Linked DNA regions of Homo sapiens: all the other regions are linked to region 4. Evidence: promoter capture Hi-C in human tissues and cell types (Jung and others, 2019). All regions are on one chromosome and are shown on one strand. The core of a region is centred on a gene start or on the middle of the fragment in contact, and the rest is flanking DNA. Distances in the headings are between cores, read along the strand shown. Region 1 overlaps LOC101927947 (a long non-coding RNA gene). Region 2 overlaps LOC101927947 (a long non-coding RNA gene). Region 3 overlaps LOC101927947 (a long non-coding RNA gene). Region 4 holds the start of SFRP2 (secreted frizzled related protein 2). Region 5 overlaps LOC101927947 (a long non-coding RNA gene). Region 6 overlaps LOC101927947 (a long non-coding RNA gene).

Region 1 (4,648 bases), core at 2,108-4,607, 350 kb after region 4:
CAATGGACCCTCTGCTTTTTTGCAAAGGCAGAAGACCAGTGTGACAGCTTTCTGTATCCTGAGCTCTTGCCCAGCATCCTGGAAAAATTGGGTCACACTCAGGCTTGAAGGGTGAATGTGAGGTTTTATTGAGTGGTGGAGGTGGCTTTCAGTGGAATGGATGGGGAACCGAAAGCGGGGGTTGGAGTGGGATGGTAATCTTCCCCTGGAGTCAGGCCACCCAGTGGCTGGACTCCTCTCTAACCAACCCAGCCAGACTCCTCTCGGCATTCAGACGATCCTCCTCTTCTGTCTTTCTCTGTTGTGTTGTTCCACCATCCCTCTGCTGGTCTGCTGGCTTGATGGTCGGCTTCTGGAGCCTGGGGTTCGGGATGTATATGGGTGCAGCATAGGGGGTGTGGCAGGCCAAAAGGCAACTTTTTGGGCGTGAAAACAGGAATGCCTGTCCTCATTTAAGACCATGGGTCTTCAGGCTTGAAGGTAGGGCCTTTGCTGGGGAACTGGCCTCTTCTACCCAGTATTTTCCTGTTTCCTGTCTGTATCAAAACTACCTGGAAGGCTGAGGGCACTCAGGCCAGGAGCACACCCACCTGCCATATGCCCCACCTGGGCCTGTACCTTGACCACCAGGCCCAAGAAAGATAGACCCCTTCAACCCTCTCCACCACCTGTTTGGAGTGCTCACTGACAACTGACATTCCTAACCCACTCCTAGTGCCAGATCCAGTCCTGGAAATCTGACAGTTTGAGCTTCATCACCCTAAGGTCCTTCAGCTGTCCTCCAGCTGCCCCCTCTATTTCCCCACCTCTCTAGGAACTGATTTCCCAATAGGCACGTGCTCTCAGATGGCTGTTGGCTCAGGTGTTAGCTAATAAGCAAGGTGTTTGCTGACAAGGGCTTAACGCCTCCCAGAGGCATTTGCATTTTAATAGGGATTGTTACAAGAATTCAACCCCCAAAGGAATGAAGTTATGATGGTAAAATGCCAGGAACCCATGTGGATATTTCAGAGCAGGGAGCCCTCTCCTTGGATCCTAACACCTGGTTAGCTAGCCCTGTCTATAGCTCTCTGGAGTGGAACATGAGATCATTTCTCTTCACCCTGCGGGGGCTGGCAATCAGCTCACAAAGTGAGGTAGCCATCTTTAAACAGCAGGATCCAGAGTCCCAGAAATCTTGACTCAGCCAGATGGGATGTCAGAGGAAGCTTCTGAAGAACTGGAGACCAGTTACAGCAAGCCGCTATGGAACATCTCTAGGCCAGATTCGGTGTTATCTTAAAGGTACCAGTTTCTAAGCAGTTGCTGACCTCAGGGAACTCCCTGTTTAGTGGAGGATGGGCCCTCTCAACGAAGATACAGGAGCACAAAGAGGGAGAAGGGGTTTCTGCAGTTGGCTGGGGGAGCTCTCATCTTTCTCCCCGCACAAGCTATTCACCACGCCACTGCTCCGTCTCATCTCTGCTCCTTGCATCTTGCTCCCCGCCACGTTATGCACATTTGGGGCCTTTTTAAAGTTATAAAACTAAGGTAACTTTATTTTAGAAGTTTTCAAATTACAGAAAAGCACAAAGCAGGAGGTAAAAATCCATAATATCACCATCCCTAGGATCACAGGGTTAACTACTATTTTATGTTCTTCTAATCTTTAATCTACACTTGGGGATCTATTTTTTATAAGCTAAAGATCATAAATATATCATTAATACAAATATATTAAATTCTTATAATTTGTAAAAGTCCCATATTGTTAAACACACTTTGAAAATGTATGTTTTTATACATATTCCATATTATGAAAGGTGATGATCCATCTTACAAAGGGTAATAATTAACAAAGAACTTTGTGATATGTTTAGGTTTTAGCAAAATGTCTTTAATTCTTTATTAAATAGTCAAGCTCATGGGGAAGGAAATCGTAAAACTGTAAAAATATTAAACACAGGAGCTTGTATTGAGCAATATATAACATTTTAGGATGATGCATCTCTTAAAGAAGGTTTGATAATGTTGCATTTTCATTGAAATTAACTCATAGAAATGTGAAACATTATCATTTTTCATTCCAGCCATTGTTTTGTAATTTCTATTACCTAAAGTGTAAATTAACCTTGAGGTTAATTTAGGTTAGAGGTCTGTATTGCATAATAGAGAAAAACCAACAAGTCTTATTATTTCTAGGAGAATTTAGTATCTTTTTTCCCTCAAATGTCAGAATCTTAGGGAACAATGAGGGAACATATTTTGCTAGCAAAAAGTGTATTTGCTTTGAGATTTTTTTCCCCTTTGGCTTAACATATCTGGCAACAAGCATCTTACACGAATTTATTTTCTTAAAGGGAAACTCACACTTCTGTAACAAATACATGTTTTTCTTCTGGAAGAGGAGCTTTCTTGCTACTGCCCATAGTATGTATGGGTATAGCCAGCCACTTGTCTAAGACAAAGCTTATTGTACAAACTATATGTTTAGAAAACATACTTTGACTCTTCATGGTATCTCAGTATCTCAACCATGACTATAAACAAGAATCACCTGGAAAGCCTGTTAAAATGTCCCAGGCCTTACATTCCAACTCATTATTGGGGTGGAGAATAGGAGGCAGGGGTCCTCATTTTTAAGAAGCCACACAGGGGATTCTAATGTCCGAGGGCCACACTTTGAGAAACACTGCCCTGCTGAATAAAAGCCCAACTCCTTAGCATGGGATCCAAGTCCCTCCTTAATCTCATTCCTATCAGGCCCATCTCCCAACACTAGACCCAGCCATTCTTTGTCACACTGATGGCTCATTCTTCCCTAACACAGCATTCTACTCCATGCCTTCATCCCTTTGGTCAAGTAGTGTAGCTGTCTTTTCCTTTCTGGTCTTAAGAACAAGTAATTCTTGTTCTTAAGAATTTTCCTGCTAATTGGTGCATATCATCCTATTGTGTGCCTAGTGGTTTCCTAGTGCTGTTCTAAGCAATATATATGTGTGTGTGTAAATATGTATATTTATATAAAAATAAATTTGCTTATATATAAACTTATAATTTATATAAAATTATATAAATAACCTATAAATCATACATAATTTCCATATAAATGTATAATATATAATTATATTATATAAAATATATATTATATATAATTTACATATGAGAATTTATATAATATAATTTATATGTTCACATATATTATGTATAAATGTATATGTTAATATATGTAATTATATACAATTTTAAAATATATAATATAAAACAATATTATATAAAAATTATACTATATACATTATAAATTTATTTATATATCTTTATAAATATTAAGTATTAAAATATTGATAAATTAAAATATTAAACATTAAATATTTATGTAGAAATTTATATATAAATATATATACACATACACATATAAAAATTTATTTCATCCTTCCCACCTCTCTATTAATATATTATCATTCCTATATTGCAGCTTAATAAACTATGGCTGAATTAAATGAGTAAAGAGATGAATGAATATTATGAATATTTGTTCAATGTAAAAACAGCTGGAGTAGTGGAGGGGAACAGACCCCACATCCTAGGCCTGAGACTCGGGGGACATGGGAAATGACTGTTCACATTTCATAGGAATACGAAGATAATGGGTGCTATGGTCTGCATGCGTGTTCCCCAAAATTCATGTGTTGAAATCCTCATCCACAAATTGATGATATTAAGAGATGGGGCCTTTTTGGGACATGATTGGGTCATGGGAGGAGACCCGCCCTAAATGGAATGAGTGTCCTTATAAAAGAAGCAGGAAGTGTTTGTGTCTTCCACCACAAGGACACAGTGACAAGGTGCCATCTGCGAACCAGGAAGTGAGTCCTCACTAGACACTGAGTATGCTGGCATCTTAATCTTGGACTTCTAAGCTTCCAAAACTGTGAATAAATTTCTGTTGTTTATAAGCCATCCTATTTATGGTATTTGTCCAAAAGAACTGTGATAACGGGATGCTGATCATTCAGAATTTGAAAGAAAAGTATTTTAAAAACATCTGTCTCAATTTTTTGTACATATTATGTTGAAATTACAGCATAGCAATGCAAATCTTTTTATAATTTTTCACACCTACTCAAAAATATGCTATGGAGACCTTCATTTATGGGCATAAAATATGCTGCTTCCTAAGGCTGTCCTGCAGGGGAGGCTTTTCTTCTGGCCCTGTACTGCTCTTTAGTCAAGCCTCTCTGTGTGCCTCTCAGTTCCTCAGACACATCATTTTCTCTCTACCTCAGAGCCCTGACACGTGTGGGCCTCCTGTGTAGAGGCTTTCTTCTTGCTTAGTTTCAACTTGTCTTGCAAAGCCCAGATCAGATGGCCCCACCCCTAACATTTTTAGGGCTGGAAGCAAGAATGCAAATGGAAACACATGCTATAGACAGAATTTAGACTTCTCAGATTCCATGCAGTTTCACATGGGAGTGCTGTGGTGTAAGAACAGGGACTCCTGACTTGTGGCCGAAGCCTCATCTTTCTACTTTCCCCATCCTTGGCTCCTCTCATCATGAAAGGAAGAGCTTGTGAATATCCCAGTGTGTACGTCAAAATCCACACATACACACATTGCAAGCAAACTCTCTTGGTCATCACCCTGAAGCCTTGGGGTGTACCTATTTGT
Region 2 (4,813 bases), core at 1,471-3,970, 400 kb after region 4:
TCTATCCTATGCCTATCCCATCATTGTATTTTGGAAGCACATATTGTTTGATTTCACAGGCTCACAGCTGGAGAGTAATTTGCTTCAGGATGAAGAGTACCTTGAATCTCACCCATATCTGATTTAGATGAGGTTCTAGAGTTTAGACATTTGAGTTGATACTGGAAACAGTTAAGACTTTGGGGGCAATTTGAATGGAATGAATGTACTTTGTAGGTAACAAGGTTATGGATTTCTGGGGGGCCAGGGGTGGAATGCCATGGTTCAAATGATGATGTCACCTCCAAAATTTATGTTCAACCTTAGTCCCCATTGTGATGCTATTTAGAGGTAGGGCCTTGGGGAAGTAATTAAATAATAAAGACTCCACTCTCATGAATGGATTAATGCCTTTATAAAAGAGGCTTTGGAGAGAATGTGCCCTTTTCCTGCCCTTTGTCTTTTGCCATGTGAGTGAGGATGCTGCAAGAGGGCCCTCACCAGACACAAAATGTCAGCACCTTGATCATGGCCTCCTCTGACTCCAGAAATGCAAAAAATTAATTTCTATTCTTTATAAATTACCCAGTCTCAGGATTTTGTGATAGCAGCAAAAGCAACCTACGGCAATCATAGTCCATTTTTAATCCGTATCATACTACAGTTTTCATCTGTACCCAGTCTCTTTGGTTTCCGATCCTTGGCCCAGTTTTCCATTTATAATATGTAGTTTGTACTAGTTTCTCAAACTCATTTCCTCACCTTCATCCCAAGGACTAACTTCTGGCTTTCACCGTTCTCTGTGGCTCCTGTGCACCTCTTTGACTTCCTTGCTCTCAAACCTCTCTGGCAACACCTTCTGCCATTCCAACTCCCCACCAGGCCTTATTTCCAAGACCAAGACCCAGAAGTTAGCTAACAGCTCTTGTTAACCTCACTCCTACCCCAAAAGCACCAAGGAAAAGGTCAATGTCCCTTTGAAAACAAGGCTACAGGGTATTGTATTCCCTATCCATACTTTAATATCTCAAGGACTAGACTCGCGTGTTAAATGTAGGCATCTACACACCTGACTGGCATAACCATATCTGTTGTAGTTCTGAGGCAGTAATGAGTAAACACACACACCCCAGAAAACTACTCCTGCGCCTCCACACTTACGTATGTGTGTGTGTTCATGCTAGTGCGTGACTCTATCTAGACCTCTACATTTGGTGTTTATTAATTTTTAAGATATTTTAATTAGAAAACAACACATGTGTTCTACGCTATTTTCATTTGTTGATAAATTCTTTAATTCTTAACCAATTCTATTCAAGCTTAGCAAAGAAGAACAAAGATACATTCTGTATTCTTAAAACCCCATCTGTTTTCTCATGTATCAAAATAGAAGAGAATAAGAAGAGGAAAACCTCACCTGGACTATGCCGTTTTTCCCATGAGATGATCTTGGAGGTCACATTCTTTTCACCATTATTTCCAAGTTGCCCTCTGAGGGCAGAAGCATAATGCAGTTGAGCTCCAAAGCTAATTTGAGCAAAACTATTTATAGTCTGAATAAAATATTTTTATAGACTTAAGTAGCATTAAAATCAACAGCAAAACAGCTGTATTTTTGTGAGAAATAAGAAGTGAGTCTACAGAACTGTATCGTGGATGCTCTTTACTACCTTTTAAAATTAGCACATTTTCACCATTAGCACTACTACATTCTTTCTTAGACGACCAGCCCCACATTTCAGCTCTGCCTCTTCACTAGGGAGCACATGAGGGGGATGCCAAAGAGAGATAATTGCAAAAACATGGCGCTTTATGCTTCAGTTGCCAGCTTTTCCCACCCCAAATAATACACTGGAATCTCAAGTCATGTGTAATTCTTTCTGAAGAAAGCATAGAACTATTTTGAAGGAAAATGCATAAAGAAAAAGTGATTTGTTTGAAGGGAGAAAAATGCTACTTTTTCCCGTTGTCAGGATTATCAAACTGTTTGTTTTTAACTGCTTTTATCCCCGTGTGAGATAAAGAGAAGTCAAAATGAATTCATTAAAGTCACGTGAGCTTATTTTTCAGGAGATGGGTATTAATATTTTATTTTAGAGTCTCTGTCATTCAATCTGACAGGTGTGGCCAGGCAGGGTTGCTGAAACCAACTCATCCCCACTCTGGTCTCATTTCCTCTCCTTGGATAACAGTCACAGAAGCCACATGCCAATGTGCTGAGAGTCACATTTTCCATCAGCAGCATTTTGCTATTTGGAAAGTCCTTAAGCAGTTGTGCCGGCTGCCTTGGAGTTACCTGCAATATGGCTCATGTGTTCCTCACAGACCGCCTGGGAAGCTTTGTTAGTCTCAGAGGCATTTATTAAATGTTTAAAACAAAGGCAAGTTACCTTTGTCTGTCAAATCTGTTTTTGAACATGGTCTTGAGTTACTCTGCGTTTCAGGATAGTGCAATAATTCTGTGACGATAAATGAGAATTGGATTTGAAAACGAAGCACCAGTTGTTCCTACTACTGTCCTTTTCTGCAGAAGGAGATCTGTGTTGTGTAATTCAGCTTTCATATGTGCCTCTTCTGGCACCTGTTTTTGCATGAGGATATAGAGTACACAGAAATTTATTGTTTGCCTAGAAATTTCTTATGTTCACAAGTTGATTGCTGCTCAATCTGTGGCTCAATGGATGACTATGAAGTGTAAAAATAGTTAAAAACATTTCTAAACATTTAGTTTCATTGTTTTGTTTCATTAGTTCAATGTTCACAGCAATAAATGGTTCTTAAAACATCTCTGAAAAGTCCAGTGGAAAACAGAAAATATGAAGGAGGAAATGACCCTTTCTAGCAGAGGGTAGGTGCAGAAGCTCAAACCTCCCTTTCTTTTCCTGATTCCATTCGTCAGTGCTCTGCAGAAGTGGCCCCTAGAGAAAAGTTTCTCTACACATGTCTTGGTGATAGTGTGGAAGCTCAGCTAAGGTACACCCAATCTTCAAAGTCCTGAGTAAAATAATGAGAATCTCTTCACCACTTGGCTAAAAATTTATTCTCCAGGAAGAATCTAAACATTGGGAAAACAAATTAATTAACAGCAGACAATGAAACATCCCCCAGGTTGGTACTTCGTTACTGAAATCAGTCCCCGAGCCATCCTGAAGACTCTGGAAGGGATAAACAGGGGACTGGTTCAAATTTCTACCGTTTCTGGCATGATCTCCCACAAACCTATCAAGGAATTTCCCTTTAATCAAGTGTTCACATAAAAGACAACAAATAAAAAATCTTAAAGAAAATTAGAAAGGGAAAAATTTACAAAGAATTATCAAGAATGTTTGGTGTATTATTGGTAAGATGCATTACCTGTGTGGGAAGTAGGACTTACCAGAGAGAACCTATTGATCAGTTCTATTTATCCAATAGCTGTGACTGCTCAAAATGCTGAGGTACCACCCCAGCCACCTGCAACAAAGTCTGAGGCCAGAGGTGGCCAAATTGCCCAAGTGTGCAGTGATTTCAATGTACTAGGTACATTGCATTGTACCTGGGACAGTGGAATGTAGAGAAGACCTCTATTAGACATGCCCTCTATCTTTCCTAATTCAGCAGTGATTTTATGAATTAGATAATTGATTTTCCTCTGCAGATGTTTGCAAGTTTTAAGCAATTAGTCTCAATATTTGCATGAACCTTTATTTATCTTAGAGGAAGGTAATTTGGTGCTATCTGTCTTTGAAATTGTTTTCTAGTCCTTTTCCACTTGTTTCCCTAGGCACCGACTGAAGACAAAAGAAACTTCTCCAGTGGATGAAGTTGTCCGCTGGCATCCACAGCAATGATGTCCTTGCTTCCCAAAGTGTACACATTGTTTGCTAGTGAGTGAGCTGACTGGGTTGTGCCATCTTTCCTGCCCCCACACATGAAGACACATTCCTTTTGCTCTCTAAATAACCTTGAAACAGGCTAAGCTTTCCAGAGCTCATTTATAGAAATCCTCGATTTATGCAAACACAGTATCATGCAAAAGAATTAAAAAGGAGAAACAGAATTTGAAATAGTAGTGCAAGGGAAGAGCTCAATGAGGACCACCCTGGAGATGGAGAAAAGATCCAAAGTCTGTTTCCAATTATGAGCTTCTAGGAGGAGAATGAGTTATATTTAAAGTAGTTCCAAACCAGGTGAGGATGGAGAGGTCATCTGTGTTGAAGAGGGGTGGGGCAGCATGGCTGGTGGCAAGTTGTGACCCTTGTTTATAACTAAAATTAGATAAGTTTGCATACAAACAAAAAACAATGTGCCTTTGGATATAGTGTCTACAGTTGGGCAGACAGAATGGGGAAATAGAGAAAGGCTTCACTTAGGATGGAGAGAGGGTCAGACCGGTGTTATTAAAACATTTGGAGTGGGAAATCCTGGCTTTGTGTCTGAGCTCTGCCAGGTTGTAGGTACTTTGGGTAATCCATTTCAACTCTGTGGGTCACAGCTTAGTTATCTTTCAGTGGTGGTATTAGCCAGTGATTCTCAAACTTTTTGATCTAAGGATGGCTTAACACTCTTAAAAACTGTTGAGACTCCAAAGAGTTTTTGTTTCTGTGGAATCTATGTGTTGATAATTATATTAGAAATTAAAATGATGAATTTAAATAAAAATATGTATTAATTTATTTATAATAACAGTAATAAGCACTTTTCATATTAACATAAGATATATTTAAGAAAATTAACTATATTTTCCAGAACAAAAAACAGTTTGGTGAAAATGAGAGACAGGACTAGCTGGATTTCCTAGGCCGACTAAGAATTCCTAAGCCTGGTTGGGGAAGGTGACCACACTCACCTTTAA
Region 3 (4,818 bases), core at 2,112-4,611, 300 kb after region 4:
CCCTTTGGGCTTAGGGATGGTAATAGCTTCCCTTTGTTACTAATTGCTGGGTACTTCATCATCCCCTACAGTTCCCCTAACATTATCCACATCTTCATAAAGATTAAACACTCCATTCATCTGACTGCTGCCTCGAGTTCCTGCCTGTGTTCAGGTTGCATCTCCCCAAGGAGATTTTACATTTCTGGAAGGCAGAGATCAAGTCTTGCTCACCTTTGAATCTGCATAGCATTGCATGAAAAGCCTTGTGGAAAACTCTCCATGAATAGTGAAGACAGAAAAGGAAAAAGGGGAAGAGTGGGTGAGGAAAGAAGAGCAAGGAAAGCAGAAAGGAAGGAAAGGAAACCATACAGGAAGGTGGAAGGATGGCAGAAAGGTGGTATAACACAAAAATGGGAACCCAACTCATTTCTCCAGAATTATGCTCTCTGACTATCAAGGTAAAGCCAAAACAGCCAGGAAGAACAGGGGCCCAACCTGCCATCTTATTAGGCGCTGCATAGACAGATCTTTCTTGTTTACTGCCCTGCCCAGCTCCTCATTCTGCAAAATGCTTTTACTGCCCCCAGTGGCTGTCATACAGTACTGAGGAGTAGCTTGGGCTTCTCTCTCTGAGTTAGAGGCCTGGGGACCTCTCCTGGGAGCCCACTCAGCACTGCATTGCATGATGTCAATCTTAGCAAGCTGGGCTATTCTGGAATAGCAGCCGCAGGCCCTCTGACTGCAGTCATTGTGTTCCTGCTATGTGCAGACTCTTGTAAGTCTTAAGGGTAGAAAGACATACAGGAGACTCCTTCACCCTCAAAAGGTATAGTGGCACCATCCAGGGTCCATGAGACAAGTAGAGGGATATTTACAGAGCATCACGTCAACCCAAATGGGTGAATTAGGAAGGTCAAGTGAAGCAGTATCAGGCAAGTGAAGTGCAGAGTGCAGATGGGAGTAGTCACGAGGGATGACTCAGAAGGACTGGCGAGATTTTTTAGTTATATTTGTGGTCAGAAGACTGAACCAGGTAGCTTGGAAAATATATTAGAAAGCAATCAATCAGTGTCAAGCACTGTCCTCAGGAATGTGGGCTTCTGGGTCCTCTGAGGATGCTTTATTGCTGATGGAATAAAAACTCTTATATAAGGATATGTTCAAGGTTCAGTGTGGATGTTTTGTGTTTTATTTTTTTTAGTCTGGCAAAGTCCACCAATAATGGTACACAGTAGAATTAAAGGGGAATTGGAAATTCTCTTCCTAGAACCCAGATTATACATATTGATGGGTATGCTGATTTGCATCTATTCCTATTTATTCATTTACCATCTCTGCTGGTAAGCTGATGGTGTGCCCAGCATGTCAGAGGATTCATTGATCCTGCCTCAAGTAAAACAGACTAATGCATATTTATTTTGCCATTTTCATTATTAAGTGAAATGCCAGAAAACATTTCAATATAACCTCTAGAGAAAACAAACCACTTTCCTGAAACCAGCTCTGTCTCTTCATCAAACGGAATGAAATATTTGGAAATGCTTCATTTCTTCCAGGCCAAAGGCACATCCATTCTCCTCATGCTGTTTCAAAGCTCTGATGAATGGAGTTCCTGTCCTGGCTCTCCTTCAGGAAGTCGTTGATCTCCAGAACCCAATAAATAATGGGAAAAAGAATGAATGGCATATATATGCATTGAGAAAGGACTTAAACTTTCACAATTTTTCTTTTTTGGTGTAGTCTCACAGGTACTCTTTTATTGATGAAAGCAACAAAAGATGGCTCCATTTGTTTCTGTGTTAATTATAAAACTGACAAGCTAGCTCAACAGCACATGAGAAGTATGTTTAACAAATCATATTAAAGAAAAAACAGAGCCAGAAACTGGGCCAGTTTGACCATTAGTTTAGGAAATAACACAGGACTGTTCCTAGGAAGAACCAAGAGGCCTAGACATAGCCTGTTAACTAGAGATGAAGGAGCTTCCATTGTCTCAACCACTTATTCATTCAAAAGCTGTATCCTAAGGACTGCCTCTAGATTCTGGGAATAAAAGAGTGAATAACATTAAAAATACCTAGTGCTAGAGACACAATAAATCAGACAAACTAACAGGGTAGGGACTTACCTGTAGGTCTTGCTGCCTGCCAATCTCACAATATTCTGCATACAATAAGAGCACAATGACTGTAGTTAGGGGGCCAGCGGCTGCTGCTCCAGGGCCCCAGCTTGCTGGGGTTGGGGCTTGTGTAGCACTGAGTGGGCTCTTCCAAGTGGAGGTTTCCAGGGCCTCTATCGAAGAGAGAGAAGCCCAAGCGACTCCTCTAGCATTGTGCGGAAGCCATGGGGGACAGTAAAGTCATTTACAGACTCAGAAGCCAAATAAACAATGGTAAAATATAAGGTATGCTAGATGGGGCGGAGAAGAAAAATAAAGTATGGAAGGGGACTAGGAAATGTTAAGGGGATGCACAATTTGAGACACTTTTATTAGAACAAAAGAAATCTCTGCCATCTGTCAACAAAGAAGACTCGGAAATATCATGAAAGCATGAAGACTTATTAAGCACCTAGTCAACAGTGAGACCCAAACTACACCTATGTAGTTGACATTCTATGCATTCAGCAGGAGCAGGATGAAGGTTACTGAGTCAGAAGTCCTGGCCCAGGCTGTCAGTTCTGGCCAGGTGAACTTGGGTGAATCATCTAACCTCTCTGAGCCACTGATTCATCATCTGCATAAGGGAGAAAGCATCTTCATAGTCCACTGCACAGGGTTATAGAGAAAACCTAATAAATATTGAATTTGGAAATTTTTTGCTGAAATCAGAGCACTGAGAGTGTGCTTGGGAAACACATATTGCCAGGGATTTCTTCCAAGAACTTCTGGTTCAGTAGATCAGAGAGAGAGACAGAGTCTAATCCAGCAGTTCTCAATGTTGGATGAACATTAGGATCACCTGAGAAGTTCCCAAAAAATACAGATGCCAAAGGCCCACACCAGACTAACTAAATCAGGATTTCTGGGGCACAGGCATAGGTACTTTTTAAAAAAGCTCTCCAGGCTATTCAAATGTGTAGACAGTTTGATAATCAACAGTCTAGTGAAGTCCATGTTACTGTGAATGATTAAAATTACAAAAAATTACAAGCTGCTAAAAGGTCTCAACCACCTTTATCTGAAATATTAGAAGAGTGGAACACCCACACTTCATGTATATTAAGTGCCAGGTAGTTCCAGGGTGGAAAGTGGCTTTCCAAGTAGCAGATAGACGCTTAAACATCTCCAAGTATGCAAGAATCTCCTATTTTGTGGGCATTTTCCTCCTCCTAGAGGCTTGGGCTCCCTCTCCCCATTATTTAATCACCCCATGATGAGGAACCCATCCTTTAGACATCCTAAGTCCCGATTGCCTCAGCATGATGGTGCAGCACCATAGTAAATGGGCACGCCATGTGAGCATCTAGATGTAAAGATTGAGTCAAGTAGTAGCACAAGGATGCAACTTTAATAGCACGTTTCCTTACTTTTCATTATCTTTTATTGGAAATAGAAATAAACAAAGTGAAATGTATCAGTGCTGAAAACAATCGTGTATTAAAGTATCTATGAAGCATCAAGTGCAACTTTCTGAAGGAAGATAGGCATAGCCTACTGTCTACAATACTGACCAAAAAGGCTTATTTGCCAGCAGGAATATTTCTTAAAAAAAAAAAAAAAAAAGACAAAGGAAAGATGATAAAACTGGGTCAGATGATTGTGTAAAGTTTTCTACTTAGATGCAAACATCAAATGATAAAATTTCCTCTTTCCCTGTGTAAACCTTTCAGTGTCTTGAAATTATCCCGGATCATTTTCTCTTTATTTCATTTATTTTATAATTTTGCCAGATACTTTTGTATGGGAAAATGGGACGCTTTGGCAGGAAGGAAAAAGGAGTACTGATATCAGGTTCCTGTACTGGGGAGCAGTTTCTGTGAGTTGTGGAGCTGAGGTGGGAGCTGGGAGGAGCTAGAAGCCTGTGTTGTCTTAAGCTCTGTTAAAGGCTATACTAGGTAGTCACGAAGCCGTTTCCCAAAGGTTTTTTTTCTGATTCACCACAATGTAAATAAAACCCCCAAAGCTCAAACAGTTATCTACTGAGATCAGGTTATCCCTGGATTCCTTTACACATCCCAATGTAACATCTTTCAACACTTGAATCCATTTTTTAACTGTCTTGTTTTCCTATAGTAACTATTGCATTAAATTACCATGCAGGAGAAAGATTTTAATCTTGGCTTCTCAGTTTTGTGAAAGCTTGTTTTATAACCCCGGATCAGCCCTGTTTCTACATTTTAAAAAGTGAGATAAGAAACATCTCATCCTTTGCAAAGAAGGGCAAGTCTTCCATTTGGTTGTTTGAGGGTGGTTAAAAAGGTCCCTCACAGCACATTTCAATAAAATATGTATAAATGGAAATAGCTGATTTCTATTTTTCAGAAAAACAACAACAACAACAACAACAAAACCCGGCTGGGCGTGCTGGCTCACACCTGTAATCCCAGCACTTTGGGAGGCCGAGGCGGGCGGATAACCTGAGGTCAGGAGTTCGAAACCAGCCTGGCCAACATGGCGAAACCCCGCTTCTACTAAAAATACAAATATTAGCTGGGTGCAGCGGTGGGTGCCTGTAATCCCAGTGGCTCGGGAGGCTGAGGCAGGAGAATCACTTGAACTCAGGTGGCAGAGGTTGAAGTGAGCCGAGATTGCACCATTGCACTCCATCCTGAACGACAGAGCAAGACTGCGTCTAAAAAAAAAATAAATTAAAAAACAAACAAACAAACAAACAA
Region 4 (4,955 bases), core at 1,067-3,566:
TGGTCTGATCAAACTTAGGGATTGTATACTAGCACAATTATCAGAAGACCTGCTAAAAGCTCTTCTAAGAGTTTGATTTCTTGGGAGAAGTAAAAAAAAAAAAAAAAGAACAATTATATTGCCCTTCTCTCATTTATAAATGTGTTAATTATGTCTTTAAAATTTAGGTGAAATGAGATTTTCACTAATGTGAAATTTAATGTTCATAGAAAACTATGTGACTTAATAGAAGCGTTATTTATCAAATTAGAAAAATCACAAAGCTGGAATTTTGAAGAACATAAACTTTTATTTTGAAGGAGAAAAGTGGCTTTTTGGAGAAATGTAAGATGCGTAATGTTGCTGCTGATAGTGGGAAGAAATAAAAGCAACATACATAAAACTGCCCTTAAGTCCCCTCACCCAAACAAAATCAAACATTTCCAATTAGGAGCTCTCAGGATGTATATAAAATATTACTAACCTGTATTGGTTGGTCTATGGTACATGTTGGACAAATGTTTGAAAAATGCCAAACATTTGCAATAAATTAGAAATCTAACCAATAAGATGATTGCAAACTCATGGTCCCTGCCAGGAAAGATTGCTAAAGAACTTTGCATTTGCTTTAACTAATGATGTCTGTAGGAAAACTACTAGAGATTGAAAGGGAGAGGCTGCTGAAGCCCTGAAAGGGATTAGGAAGCTCCCTTTTCCAACCCAGGGGACCCAAATCAGCTCAGAGGCATTGTATATGTTTTCCTTTCAGAAAAAATATTGAGAGCCCATGAGGTTTTCATTGCTTTGATGGTTTTTGCACAGGAACTCTCCCTCCGTTTTCTAAAAACTTGGGAATCTCTTTTGCATGATTTTCTCCAGCTAATCAAAACCACTCCTAAGTTAAAAACTGATAGCAATAGAAAAGTGATTTCCAGAGATTCCCTTTATGCCCTCTTCCTCAAGTATCTGAGCAGTTACAACCAATGTTCAATTTTCCACACACTCCGTGCCAGTCCCGGTTTTATTTCCAAAATCTAAATTGACAAAGGACAAAAAGACCCTTAAAAGGTTATCTACTTGTGCATCCTGGTTTTCCTTTCTGTACAGGAAATGTTCCTGTGACTAGAATCCTGCCCAGTGGTAGGAAGGTGCAGAATGAGGCTGAGCGAGGGGCCTCTGGCCAGAATGCTCACCACAAACTCCTCCACCAAACACCACTTCCAACGCTCTGCGCAGCTCCAGTGCTAGCATCTTTAACAATAATCGTGTATCTATTTTTTTTTAAACCGCCGTTCAGTTCTTCGTTTTTTTAGTTTTGTTGTTTTTGTTTGTTTGTTTTATTTTTAAACTGCCCTTAAGTATAGCTGGTACAACTCGGGAGGAGAATGCGCGAGACTTGGGCGGCGTGGGAGGGGTGCCTCAAATTTGATACAGGCTTGTTGTGATGACAGACCAGGTCAGGCAGAACTTCTGCCCTTCCCGCTACTGGCACCCCAAGCAGGGATGCACTGGGATGCGTGGCAGGGGCGGGATCTCCTGGGAGCGTCTCAGCCCAGCAGGGAGTGGGGAAGCAAGAGGGAAGGCTTACCTTCCTCGGTGGCTGGCAGGAGGTGGTCGCTGCTAGCGAGGGGGATGCAAAGGTCGTTGTCCTGGGGGAAACGGTCGCACTCAAGCATGTCGGGCCAGGGGAAGCCGAAGGCGGACATGACCGGGGCGCAGCGGTCCTTCACCTGCACGCAGAGCGAGTGGCATGGCTGGATGGTCTCGTCTAGGTCATCGAGGCAGACGGGGGCGAAGAGCGAGCACAGGAACTTCTTGGTGTCCGGGTGGCACTGCTTCATGACCAGCGGGATCCAAGCGCCGGCCTGCTCCAGCACCTCCTTCATGGTCTCGTGGCCCAGCAGGTTGGGCAGCCGCATGTTCTGGTATTCGATGCCGTGGCACAGCTGCAGGTTGGCAGGGATGGGCTTGCAATTGCTGCGCTTGTAGGAGAAGTCGGGCTGGCCAAAGAGGAAGAGCCCGCGCGCCGAGCCCAGGCAGCAGTGCGAGGCGAGGAAGAGCAGCAGCAGCGAGCCAGGGCCCTGCAGCATCGTGGGCGCGCGACCCCGAGGGGGCAGAGGGAGCGGAGCCGGGGAAGGGCGAGGCGGCCGGAGTTCGAGCTTGTCCCGGGCCCGCTCTCTTCGCTGGGTGCGACTCGGGGCCCCGAAAAGCTGGCAGCCGGCGGCTGGGGCGCGGAGAAGCGGGACACCGGGAGGACAGCGCGGGCGAGGCGCTGCAAGCCCGCGCGCAGCTCCGGGGGGCTCCGACCCGGGGGAGCAGAATGAGCCGTTGCTGGGGCACAGCCAGAGTTTTCTTGGCCTTTTTTATGCAAATCTGGAGGGTGGGGGGAGCAAGGGAGGAGCCAATGAAGGGTAATCCGAGGAGGGCTGGTCACTACTTTCTGGGTCTGGTTTTGCGTTGAGAATGCCCCTCACGCGCTTGCTGGAAGGGAATTCTGGCTGCGCCCCCTCCCCTAGATGCCGCCGCTCGCCCGCCCTAGGATTTCTTTAAACAACAAACAGAGAAGCCTGGCCGCTGCGCCCCCACAGTGAGCGAGCAGGGCGCGGGCTGCGGGAGTGGGGGGCACGCAGGGCACCCCGCGAGCGGCCTCGCGACCAGGTACTGGCGGGAACGCGCCTAGCCCCGCGTGCCGCCGGGGCCCGGGCTTGTTTTGCCCCAGTCCGAAGTTTCTGCTGGGTTGCCAGGCATGAGTGGGAGAGGGTGTGTGTGTGTGTGTGTGTGTGTGTGTGTGTGTGTGTGTGTGTGTTGGGGGGCTGCGTCCCTGGTAGCCGCGTGTGCCCTGTGATGGAGCCCGGGACCTGCCCGCCCGAGGCCGCCTCGGCGAACTTCGTTTTCCCTCGAATCTCCAGCCACCGTTCAGCAGCCTGTCGGTGTGCTCCCCAATGCCGTAAAAAAATCAGAATTATAAATATATTCGTATGAGCAGAACTTTACATGGAAAACGAAATACTAATAAAATGGGCTTGTTATTCTGTTGGAGTGAGTGCCTAGGAAGGGTTTCGTCGTTGTAGAAACGCCCCTACAAGAGTCTCACCAGTCACACAGGACTGCCCACCATTTCCCCGTTTTGGAGAGATTTTTCCTTCTTAAATGAATGGCATGACTCAATACTCGAAGGCATCACGGGCTCTAACACACAGCCGCCCTTGCAGCTGTGCGCTCTGGAAAGCTGGAGTATGGGCCCCCAGGGCACTGTTTGTAAAGACTGGTGGCCGGCACAAAAGACGGGCACAAAAGATGGGCAGGCTGGGAGGGAGCGAGGTAGAGGAAGGAGTCCTGCCTAGAGATCCACGAGGGCTAGAATTAGCTCATTCATCCCCTACGTACCAGGGGGCACCATGCTGGGCGCTGGATGTGCAGAAATGAACAAACAGGCCGGCCTCTGCTCTCGTGGAGCCTGGGATCTAGTGTCTCTGACTGCAAACAGTAAGTTCTGGGTTGGGGGGTGGGCTCCTTTTGCCTAATTGTCCCTAGTCTCCCTATGGGGACAGGAGGCCTTCGCTCTCCTCAGCCGCTGTCTCCGGGTGGCTGTGAAGATCCAAAGAGATAATCCCCGGAGGGCGAAGTTCTTTCATATGTAAGGTGGGCGCATTGTTATTACTTCCCGACCACTTAAGAGTCATTCACAGGCTCAGACCCCGGCTTCCTAATTTCCCTCCTTCCGGAAGATGCGTTGGCCTTGGCGGCTCCCAGGCCCAAGTTATCAGGCACACTTTGCGGTCCAGCTGCTTAGAGGAGCCGGGTAATGAATGAATGGGTGGCAAAAGCCCACTCAGTGTTATCTGCTGACCGTAAACACGCCAGGAAAATCGTCATCTGGAGAGAATGCACATTCTGAACTCCAAGAATCTGCGTCCCTAAGAGCCCAGCTTCCGGGTGCTCTGCTGGGGAAGGGCCCGGGGTAGCTGCAAAAGGCCTCTCTTTCCCCAAATTGGTTCAGGGCCTTTTCGTCTCTAACGAAAGCACCAAGAGGCCTAAAAGCCCCCTTCCCAACATAAACTACTTTGCAATGAAACCACAAAGGAAACAGAAGCACACCAAAAGAAAGAGCTAATAAAGAGCGTGAGCTCTGAGAGATGCTACGACTTGGGCCTGGGAGTGGGATAAGGGCCCTCTCGCTTTCACGCCCCCCCAACCCCCCGCCGGCCCCGGCCAACCCCTAAATCCCCAACGCCCTCCGCTGGGGTCGCCTCCTCCCCGCAGAGCCCCTTGTTGGGAGTTCAAGGAGCCCGAAGCTGGTCTGGCTGGTTTGAGCCCCGCGCTGCCGCACGCCCGGAAGTGGCTGGCGGCCCCCGCGCTCCGCGCGCCGGCTGCATTGTTTTGGGAGCCCTCGCTGCCCGGCTTGCCGCCAGGAGGTGCTGGGAGTCGCGCCTGAGTCTCCATCCCTGCCGTGCGCAGTGTCCACCTCTGGCCAGCTTGTTTGCCCGGCCCGCGGCGTCCCCTGCGGCCCATCGCTGCTCCTCCCGGAACCCACGCCACTTAGTCTGGTCCCGACCCTGCACTCGCTGCTGCTGCCTTTCCCACCTCAAGTCGCTCTCCCCACTCCCTTCTGCTTTTGGGCTAAGACCGGTCCAATTGATCACTGGGGAACAGGGCAATAACCTCCCGCGGAGGCTGGGACGCGGGCACGGAGCTCTGCCCATATGAGCAGCGCAGGGATGGGACACTGGGTGCCCATCCCAGCGCGCCTCCCCAGACTGGTCCCTGGGATGCTCACACGTGGCGCGGCACCGCGGCGGCGCCTTCACGAACCCAGACTCTTCTCTGCTGCCAGTTGACCTCAGGTCCACAGGTCTCCTTCGATCCTTGCAATTGATCAAAACCCACCAAAGGCTTTTATTTGTACCAATGGACCGTCCATGTTTACCCCCTCCCTGCCCATTTAAGGCACGGAAAATCTATTCACCCAAGCCCAG
Region 5 (4,600 bases), core at 1,963-4,462, 380 kb after region 4:
ATGAGACCTTTTCCCTGAATGCATTAATAAAGATAACTTATTGGTCCCGGTCCCAAACCACTGGAGCCACATTTAATTTGCTGCGTTTATTGTTCTGGGCTCTGGTATACAGAGGTGCTCAGGAGCACAGCAACATCACTGGAAGCACTGATAGAAAGGACAAAAGGAAAGGTTCCTGTTCTTACTTAGAATTTCCAAAATGCCCTAGTTACTAAATATTCATCAATCCTCCTAAATTTGTTTGAACTTTCCCCAAAGTTTTTATCTTATGGTTATTTTAAAAGGATTAAACACCTATACATATACACAAGTCCCCAAACCTTACCTGAAACTGTTAGAGTGTCCTATTAATTCCCACTTAAAATAACTTTTCCCCTATTCTTTTTTTTTGGTGTAGGGGAAGGAGAGGTGGCAAGAGATTGAATGTTTAAGTTTCTCTAAGCCGTGTGCTGTTGCTCACCATATTAAGAGCATGTGTGCATTACTTCATAAACTATCAGATGACATGCAACTTTATTTATACTCAGTAAAAAAGAATAATGAGTTACGTAAAGTTATTTCTGACACCGGGCAAAATAACTCTGCAAAAAGGCACCATTCATGGGGGTCAGCCCAGCCTGGCTCAGGGGCCATCATCCACTAGCTCCAAACAAATTTAAGAAAGAATTACAGCTGTGGACACCATGTCACATGCCAAGGGTAATATGTACAAGTCATGATCAAGCATAATAACGAAAGCCCTTATGCCCTCTATTCTATTCCTCTCTGCAGATTAAGGGCCTCCAGGGTCAGGACCAACTGCCTAGGGAAGGCTTAGGAAGTCTGAGTTTGTGTATTCTCCAAATTTATGAAAGACAACATCACAGTGGCCATCAGTCTGGGGTTTGAAAATATCTAAACTGAAAAAGCTGAGATTTAGCCAAAGTATGAAGTACAATGGATCTCCTTATAATCTTTTTTGTTTGTTTGTTTATTTTGTTTTTTGCTTAATGACAACCTAGATGTAAGTCAAGAGGTAATTAAGTGAACACTTAAGTTTAGCTGATAAGGAGGGGCAAATACTGAGGTTCCTTTGTGGGATGTCATACCTTTGTATTTTTCTCAACCATCCTAAGAGAAACATAGAGTGTGTTTCTGCCAGGATCCGGGACCATCAGCATGTCAATTCTTCTGATCTGCAAATGTCTAATTTCTCTTAGCAGAAATGGTGTTTACGGGGAAAATATCATGTGTACAGCTAGTTGTTGCTTAGTTAAAATGAATTCTGGGAAACATACTTGGGGCTCCTAGGTATCATAAATACCTTATAAAGTAGCCCCAGAGTAGGCTTGCTAATTTAGAAATTTTGGAAATAAAAAGATTGAGATCTTGGAAAACTCCCACTTCATGTGATATCAGCAGGTTAAGTATGTGCTGTTAACTGCTGATAATTGGCATTTCATTACTGATGGAACTACTACAAACTGCCTACTGGGAGGGTGTGTAGAAACACCATGACCAAATCTAGCATGCACCAGTACTTATTTTTCCCTGAGCTCTATTAAGATGATTTATTACTAAATATTAAGATGATTTATTACTATTAAGATGATTTATTACTAAATAAAGGCACTAATTTCATGGGCTCATATGAACTTAAATTCACGTGTGTATGTGTCTCTCTGTGTGTGTATTTCTTTCTCTGTGTGTGTGTGTGTGTGTAACTAGAGAAAATTAAGCAAAGACATTTGATTAGCAAGTACAAAGAGGGAAAGAGGGAAGTTTAGTTTCTCCCAGTAAAATGATTATTTTTAAAGTTTCTGTACAATCAATAGGAAAAGAGGATGCGGGTGAAAGGGGAAAGTCACAGGTATTTATATCTAAATAGCTCTGTAGGTTTTAGAGAAGGTTAAAGAAGGTAAGGGTGGTGATGTGTTTATTGGAGGTGGGAAGGTGGAAGTTGGAGGAGTGTACATCAATGGGCCCTTTTTTGTTTAGTGTCCTGGGAAATGTGGCCATTTCTGAAAGTCACGTGAGTCAAATGGAAGAGATAATTTGAGAGCTCTGATATTGCTGGTATACAGGAAATAAGAAATAGGATGAGAATAAAAATATTGAGCTGTAATGAAGGCCCATGTGAGAGTGGAAATGACAAATGTACACTAGTGGCTAATTGTTACAATGTTGTCATTTTATTCAACTGAGCTCAACATGTCAGGAGCAGAAAAAATGAATGTGATAGGATTAAGTAAGGTGTATTAGTCTGTTCTCTCATTGCTATAAAGAAATACCCGAGACTGAGTAATTTGTAAAGAAACAAGGTTTAATTGGCTCACAATTCTGCAACTGTACAGGAAACATGATTCTGGCATTTGCTTGGCTTCTGGGGAGACCTCAGGAAACTTACAATCATGGTGGAAGGTGAAGGAGAGGCAAGCCTGTCTTACGTGGCAGAAACAGGAGGAAGAGAAAGCGGGAAATTCCTGGTTTCCCAGAAAGTCTCTGGCTCTAAATCATATTCAGTTTCAGCAGAATAGTTGTGTCTAACCTTTCCCACGCTGCTGCTACACACTTTTAAACAACCAGATCTCTTGAGAACTCACTCACCATACAGTACCAAGGGGAGCTGGTGCTAAGCCATTCATGAGAACTCCACCACCATGATCAAATCCCCTCCCGTGAGGCTCCTCCACCAGGGCTGAGAATTACAATTCAACATGAGATTTGGGTGGGAACAGAGATACAAACCACATCAGAAGGATTTGCTGGACCCAACACCCAGGAATCAGGAAGGTGGGAGACAAAGATGTTGCAAAGACATGGCTGAAATTATTGACTGTATGGTCCAAGCTGGGTGAGAAAATTGAAACCAAGAGGAATTTGAGAGGGTATAGGGAGGCATGATGAGAGTGGAAATGTCACAGTACAGACATAGTTAGAGTGTGAGAAGTGGAAGAATTAGAAGTAGAGATTGGAGAGTGAAATTTTGCTAAGAGAATATGCTAGGGTCTGAATGTTTGTGTCCCCTCAAAATTCGTGTGCTGAAAACCTAATCATCAAGGTGATGATATTAGAGGATGGGGTTCTTGGGAGGTGATTAGATCACGAGGGTGGGGCCTTCATGAATGGGGTTAGTGTCCTGACGAAAGAGGCCCCAGAGAGTTCCCTTGCTCCCTTTCACCATGTGAGGACACAGCTAAAAGGCATGACCTATGAGGCAAAAAGCAGGCCAATGGCAAACACGGAAACTGCTGGCACCTTAATCTTGGACATTATAGCCTCCAGAACTGTAAGAAATATTTCTCTTATTTACAACCTACCCAGTGTATAGTATTTTGTCATAGCAGTCTGAACTGACTTTGACAGACAATTCCTGGTAGTGGCTGGTATCTGGACTGTGGCCCTGGGAGTGGACTGATGTGTAAGAATGAAGGCAAAGTTCGATGATCTGTGAGGCTGGGAAGATACCCAAATCAACACATACATCGCCTCATGTAGGATACATTAAGACTCTGGTTGAAGAGAAAGTCTACATCAATTTAGACCACTTGGCCTCTGAAAAGATGTTGCCCTTGTTGATTTTCTGTGTATATATATATATTGCTGAGTCTTTGGTTGATAATGCTTTTTTTTTTTTTAATTCTCAAGAGTCAAAAAGTCCCCACAGAGAAGACCCACTTGCTAATCCTGAGCAGACCATGCAATGGAAGCATCTTGAGGCAGAGTGGTGAAGCTGAAAGCCCTGGACTAGGAACTGGAGCTGTAGAGTCCTGCTGTGGTTCTGCTGTTGACTTACTTGTTTAAATCAGAGATGAAATAACAACCTCTCTGGGCCTCTTATCTGTGAAATGAGAGGTTTGGCTAATGTGGTTTCCCAGGAATTTTCTGGCTCTAAGTTACATTCAATTTCAGCAGAATATTTGTTTCTAACCTTTCCCATGCTGCTGCTGAGTTGGCCTAATTGCTAGCCCTCCACTGATTTCATTCTGCCCCACCCCACCCTCAGATGACTCCTTCTTTCCACTTAGAGATAACAGCACCAATTAACTCAGGATAATTTCCCTCACTGCCAAAACTATTTCCAAAATGCAAACTTGTGGCTGCTGATTCATGCTGCTAGAGAAGCACTGTTTCTTTCTGACTGGCTTCACGTGTGTTGCCACTACAGGAAGAGACCAAGTCACTGGTAAAAAGCTAGGGTAACCAGGAGAAATGGCCCCTTCAGATGACACTGTGAGAGTCAACAAGGTAAGAAAGAGGAAGCTTTAAAATCACCACCATCATCATTTTTGAAATGTGGAAAGTTAGTTATGCATGGTGCTTGCCCTTGGGTACCTTAAAATTGAAAACATATAAGCAAAACACCATATATGGCCTGGCACAGTGACTCATGCCTATAAATCCCAGCACTTTGGAAGGTGGAGGTGGGTGGATGGCTTGAGCCCAGGAGTTTCAGATCAGCTTGTGCAATATGGTGAAAGCCTGTATCTGCCAAAAAAAAAAAAAAAAAAGAAAAGAAATACACAAAAATTAGCTGGGTGCAGTAGTGCATACCTGTAGTCCCAGCTACTCAGAAGGCTGAGGCAAGAAGAACGCTTGAGCCCAGGAGTTTGAGGATGCA
Region 6 (4,480 bases), core at 66-2,565, 320 kb after region 4:
AGCCTTGTAGTATAGTTTGAAGTCAGGTAGTGTGATGCCTCCAGCTTTGTTCTTTTGGCTTAGGATTGTTTTGGCAATGCAGGCTCTTTTTTGATTCCATATGACCTTTAAACCACTGCTCGATGAAATAAAAGAGGACACAAACAAATGGAAGAACATTCCATGCTCATGGATAGGAAGAATCAATATGATCAAAATGGCCATACTGCCTAAGGTAATTTATAGATTCAATGCCATCCCCATCAAGTTATCAATGACTTTCTTCACAGAATTCTAAGTGTCTTTTTTTAAACATGCCAACCAAGCATTGTTTTAGTAAAACAATAAAGATGTCTCCTAGAGTGGTAGAATTCTACTGAATCAAGTAGCAAACCATTTGCTAGTTTGTTAAATGGAGTATCTTGTTAAATGGACTACCATGAAGTAGAATATTTTAGGTAGATTATGCACAATTATTTATGGTAGATTATGCACAAATATTTATGCATAATCATAAATATCTCCCTAAAATATTCAAGAGTTTAATCAGTTTTTCCCAGGACCAGTGTTCACTTTTGATATCCAGAGTTTTAGGTAGATTAAGCACAAATATTTATGAGATTTTCATGATACCAAGGTATATTATTCTTAATCTTTCAGAATATTTATTATGCATATGTTATACAAGATATACCCTTTAAGGTCTTGTGGGAAAATAGTTTGAAAAAATAGAGTCAGATCAATAGCCAAAGTGATATTACTGAGGGCAGAAGATTATCCAACTAACAGAAACCAACTATAGTGGTCCCATGCCAGAGTGGGAAGACAACATTAGCTTTAGGGACTGCAGGTTTAGGACTGCCTTTTAGTTTCAAGTGACAAAAATCTAACACAAGCTAGCTTTAACTCAATAATGGGAATTTATAGGCTCATAAAACCAAACTCAGGACAAAGGATAATACTGGCCTCGGGAATGACAATGCTGGTGGCCCTTGATGCTCTCAAGGCTCCCTCTCTCCATTTCTGTCTGGCATCTGCTTTTCGTCTGTGCTGACTTCACTCTCTTACCTCTGCATCATCTTTGGCACGTGATGGGCAACAGGAATCCCTCAAGTCAACCCAACAACTCTGCCACCAGGAGAGTAAAGAAGTTCTGTCCCATTAATCTTAGGTGGAAAAATTTCAGGGCAGATCTTAGTTAGGGTCAGTTGCAACTGACCATCACTGACCATCAATTGTCATCCTGGCTTCCACGTCTGAGAACAGGAGGATACACTAACTGGGCTAGCCCTGGTCTTCTGAACTCTCATGAGGCCAAAGGGATAGATTATGTTACCAGAGAAATGCACAGAAGCTGGGCAGAAATAGACAAAAGCCACTGCAAGGATAAAATCCTTACCTTCTATCACTTTTTGTCTCTCGTCTCTTAGTTGTATGGTTTTACATGTTGCATATGGATTCTCATATAGGCCAGTTAAACTTAGGTTAATCTGACTTGGACTTGAGTTACATTTTCATTAGTTTAGGACCAGATTGTGAAACAGAGTTTATGTGGGAAGTAATTTACAGATGGCCTGACATTGGTTTTGTGAGCCTGTTTACTGTGTCTAAACCTGAGAAATAGCATGGGTGTTTTTCCTCCTTTAATTTAATTTTAGCTGTGATTTGATACATTAGGTGTGTCAAGAAACACATTGAAAGTCTCAGTTCAAAATAAATTTGTTTCTAAGAATGTCCCATTTTCTCTCAAAATGCTATGAGAAAAATTCAATAAAACCTCTTTCATATCCTTAAATGAAGAGACCAATAGTAATTTAAATGGATTTTAATCGTATTTATGGTTTTTAATGTTTATGCTGTAAGTATATTTATTAATATACATATGGGTTAAATTTCTTTATGGCCTTGAAACTAGTTTTAAAAGTCATTAAATACACCAAAAATTATTTAGCTGGTAAAATTTTCCCTTGGCTTTGTTTAAAGAATCAGTCTACCCTCAGATAAATAAATATATATTGAGCATTCAATAGTCCTGAACTCTGAACTAGGAGCAGTAGCAGACAAAGCAAAAGGCTTCAACGAGTTTACTATGTAGTTAAGGAGACAGGTCAAAGGCTTGAAATAAGAGAGAAATATGCATGGCCTTGTATCACATGTACATAAGCCAGCAATAAGATGAAAGGCATTCAAGAGCATGATCAGCTGCACAGGCTTCAAGGCACTAGTTAGGCAGGGAGAACATTGCAATCAAATAATAATGACATTACTTTTCAGTCATTCTCACATTCCTGCTGACTTATGCCAGCTTAAATCCCCATTTGTGTTTGTAGCACACATATTTATACTAAGGTGGTGCAAGGTGATGTGACAAACAAACCCTAAATTATATAATGGCTTAGACATAATAAAGCTTAATATGGGTGTTCATGATTGCCACTTAGTGACTCAGAAACTCAGGCTTCTTCTGCCTTATGGCTCTGCCATCTTCAAAACAGCTTCCAAAAGGATGCTTTGCTCATCGGAGCCAATCCAGAGGAAGGAGGGAACACCAGGAAAGAGCATCCATTGCAGGTTTTTATGAGCCAAGCCTGGAAGTGGCACATATTCCTTCTGTTCACATTCTGATGAGTAGAAGTCAGGTCCATGGCTTTGTCTAACTGGCTAAGAAATGTCACCTAGGTGTGGGCCAAGGATGAAGAGACAGGTTAGGTGAATAGTTAGCCATAACATCCGTGAACATCAAATTCAAGAAACAAAAAGAGAGGGGGGACAAAGTACTACTTGACATGTGTTTGTTGATGACTCACCCACCATCATTTAATAAACTTGTACTCTGAATCTTATTAATTTTGTAATCTGAATCTTATTAATTTTGTAATCTGAATCTTCTTAATTTCTCCACTGCCAGACAGTGATTTGTGGAATGGGTTCAAAGACAGATGAACATTATTTAGATATGCTCCGCTTGTACACATGTACATATGCACAGCTAGGGAAGCATGACAGTAAAGCCTCATCACACCCTCATGCAGAAGCCTGTGTGGTATAAGATTGTGTGTTTGTGTGTATATGAGTTAAGTGGATGGGTGCATGCGTATCTCCACAAATAATACACATATATATGAAACCTTGCTATTATGAATGTTTCTCAAATTAAGTGGATACAAATTTTAATATTCCCAGTGGAAACATAAATAATAACTTTTCAAAACTTGTTCTTTCATTTACACAAGGTAATTTTAGCATTTTGGTTGAATGGAAATACCCTGTTTTGGAGATGCTGGTTATTATGGGTTAAATTGTGTTCCTCATGATGATATCTTAAAATCTTAACCCCTTATACCTGTGAATGTGACCTTATTTGGAGATAGGGTCTTTGTAGATATAATTGGGTTAATATGAGGTCATACTGGATTACGGCGAGGACTAACCCAATGACTAGTGTCTTTAGACATTAGACTTAGAGGATGTTTGGACTCAGGGAAACACAGAGCACTCACTTTGTGAATCCTCCTCACAAAGCAGAGGACACCAGGAGAAGATGAAAGCAGTCATTGGAGTGATGTGTCCCCTAGCCAAAGAACATCAAGGGTTACCAGCGACCACCAGAACCTAGAAGAGAGCATGGAAAAGATTCTCCCTCAGAACTTCCATAAGAGACCAACCCTGTCAACACTGAATTTCAGACTTCTAGCTTCCAGAATTGTGAGGGAATAAATTTCTGCTGTTGTAAGCCATTTACTTTGTGGTAATGTGCTATGGCAGCCCAGGAAACTAATGTATATGTTATACATTTATTTATAGTATGGTTGTTTTCCTCTTATAAGTGTTCAACTTACACATTTTCATGGATATAAAGAAAGGTATGAACACCATTAGCACTGTGACTATTCCCACTGCCAAAAAATAAGGCTAATAGTTGCCTTTATAAAATCACTCTGGGTGGCTGGCAAGATGGCGGAATAGGAACAGCTCCAGTCTGCAGCTCCCAGTGAGATCAACGCAGAAGTTGGGTGATTTCTGCATTTCCAACTGAGGTACACAGCTCATCTCATTGGGACTGGTTATTCAGTGGGTGCAGCCCATGGAGAGCAAGCTGAAGCAGGGTGGGGTGTTGCCTCACCTGGGAAATGCAAGGGGTAGGGGATTTCCCTTTCCTAGCCAAGGGAAGCCATGAGGGAGTGTGCCATGAGGAATGGTGCATTCTGGGCCCAGATACTACTTTTCCCATGGTCTTTGTAACCAACAGACCAGGAGATTCCTTAAGGTGTCTACACCACCAGGGCCCTGGGTTTCAAGCACCAAACTGGACGGCCATTTGAGCAGACACCGAGCTAGCTGCAGGAGTTGTTTTTCATACCCCAGTGGCACCTGGAATACCAGCGAGACAGAACTGTTCACTCCCCTGGAAAGGGGGCTGAAGCCAGGGAGCCAAGTGGTCTAGCTTAGCAGATCCCACACCCATGGAGCCCAGCAAGATAAGATCCACAGGATTGAAATT

What was found. Contacts are between HindIII fragments. The study calls those that stand out against the background at their distance.
Region 1: a contact is called between a fragment that was not itself captured here and the fragment with the promoter of SFRP2 in region 4, in 1 of the 25 tissues and cell types used here (mesendoderm cells).
Region 2: a fragment that was not itself captured here is called in contact with the fragment with the promoter of SFRP2 in region 4 in 3 of the 25 tissues and cell types used here (mesendoderm cells, neural progenitor cells and thymus).
Region 3: a fragment that was not itself captured here is called in contact with the fragment with the promoter of SFRP2 in region 4 in 1 of the 25 tissues and cell types used here (H1 embryonic stem cells).
Region 5: a fragment that was not itself captured here is called in contact with the fragment with the promoter of SFRP2 in region 4 in 1 of the 25 tissues and cell types used here (bladder).
Region 6: a fragment that was not itself captured here is called in contact with the fragment with the promoter of SFRP2 in region 4 in 1 of the 25 tissues and cell types used here (thymus).

Annotation. Positions count from the first base shown.
Region 1 is chr4:154,136,687-154,141,334 of GRCh38, forward strand. The region is part of intron 9 of LOC101927947 (a long non-coding RNA gene); the gene reads left to right. Among named protein-coding and RNA genes, the nearest start is that of SFRP2, 350 kb to the left of the region's middle. RefSeq lists an enhancer at 911-1,205. The HindIII fragment of the contact is 3,059 bases long and covers 1,829-4,648 here.
Region 2 is chr4:154,187,363-154,192,175 of GRCh38, forward strand. All of the region lies in intron 10 of LOC101927947 (a long non-coding RNA gene), which reads left to right. Among named protein-coding and RNA genes, the nearest start is that of DCHS2, 300 kb to the right of the region's middle. RefSeq lists a silencer at 2,081-2,281. The HindIII fragment of the contact is 4,243 bases long and covers 600-4,813 here.
Region 3 is chr4:154,082,366-154,087,183 of GRCh38, forward strand. All of the region lies in intron 9 of LOC101927947 (a long non-coding RNA gene), which reads left to right. Among named protein-coding and RNA genes, the nearest start is that of SFRP2, 300 kb to the left of the region's middle. The HindIII fragment of the contact is 4,955 bases long and covers 885-4,818 here.
Region 4 is chr4:153,786,767-153,791,721 of GRCh38, forward strand. It overlaps SFRP2 (secreted frizzled related protein 2), which reads right to left and starts at 2,317. Exons shown (of 3, transcript NM_003013.3): 1 at 1,568-2,317. The coding sequence starts at 2,069. RefSeq lists enhancers at 2,461-2,630, 2,545-3,246, 3,247-3,948, 4,210-4,379. The HindIII fragment of the contact is 9,313 bases long and covers 1-4,955 here.
Region 5 is chr4:154,161,351-154,165,950 of GRCh38, forward strand. All of the region lies in intron 10 of LOC101927947 (a long non-coding RNA gene), which reads left to right. Among named protein-coding and RNA genes, the nearest start is that of DCHS2, 330 kb to the right of the region's middle. The HindIII fragment of the contact is 3,975 bases long and covers 1,226-4,600 here.
Region 6 is chr4:154,104,561-154,109,040 of GRCh38, forward strand. The region is part of intron 9 of LOC101927947 (a long non-coding RNA gene); the gene reads left to right. Among named protein-coding and RNA genes, the nearest start is that of SFRP2, 320 kb to the left of the region's middle. The HindIII fragment of the contact is 4,768 bases long and covers 1-3,699 here.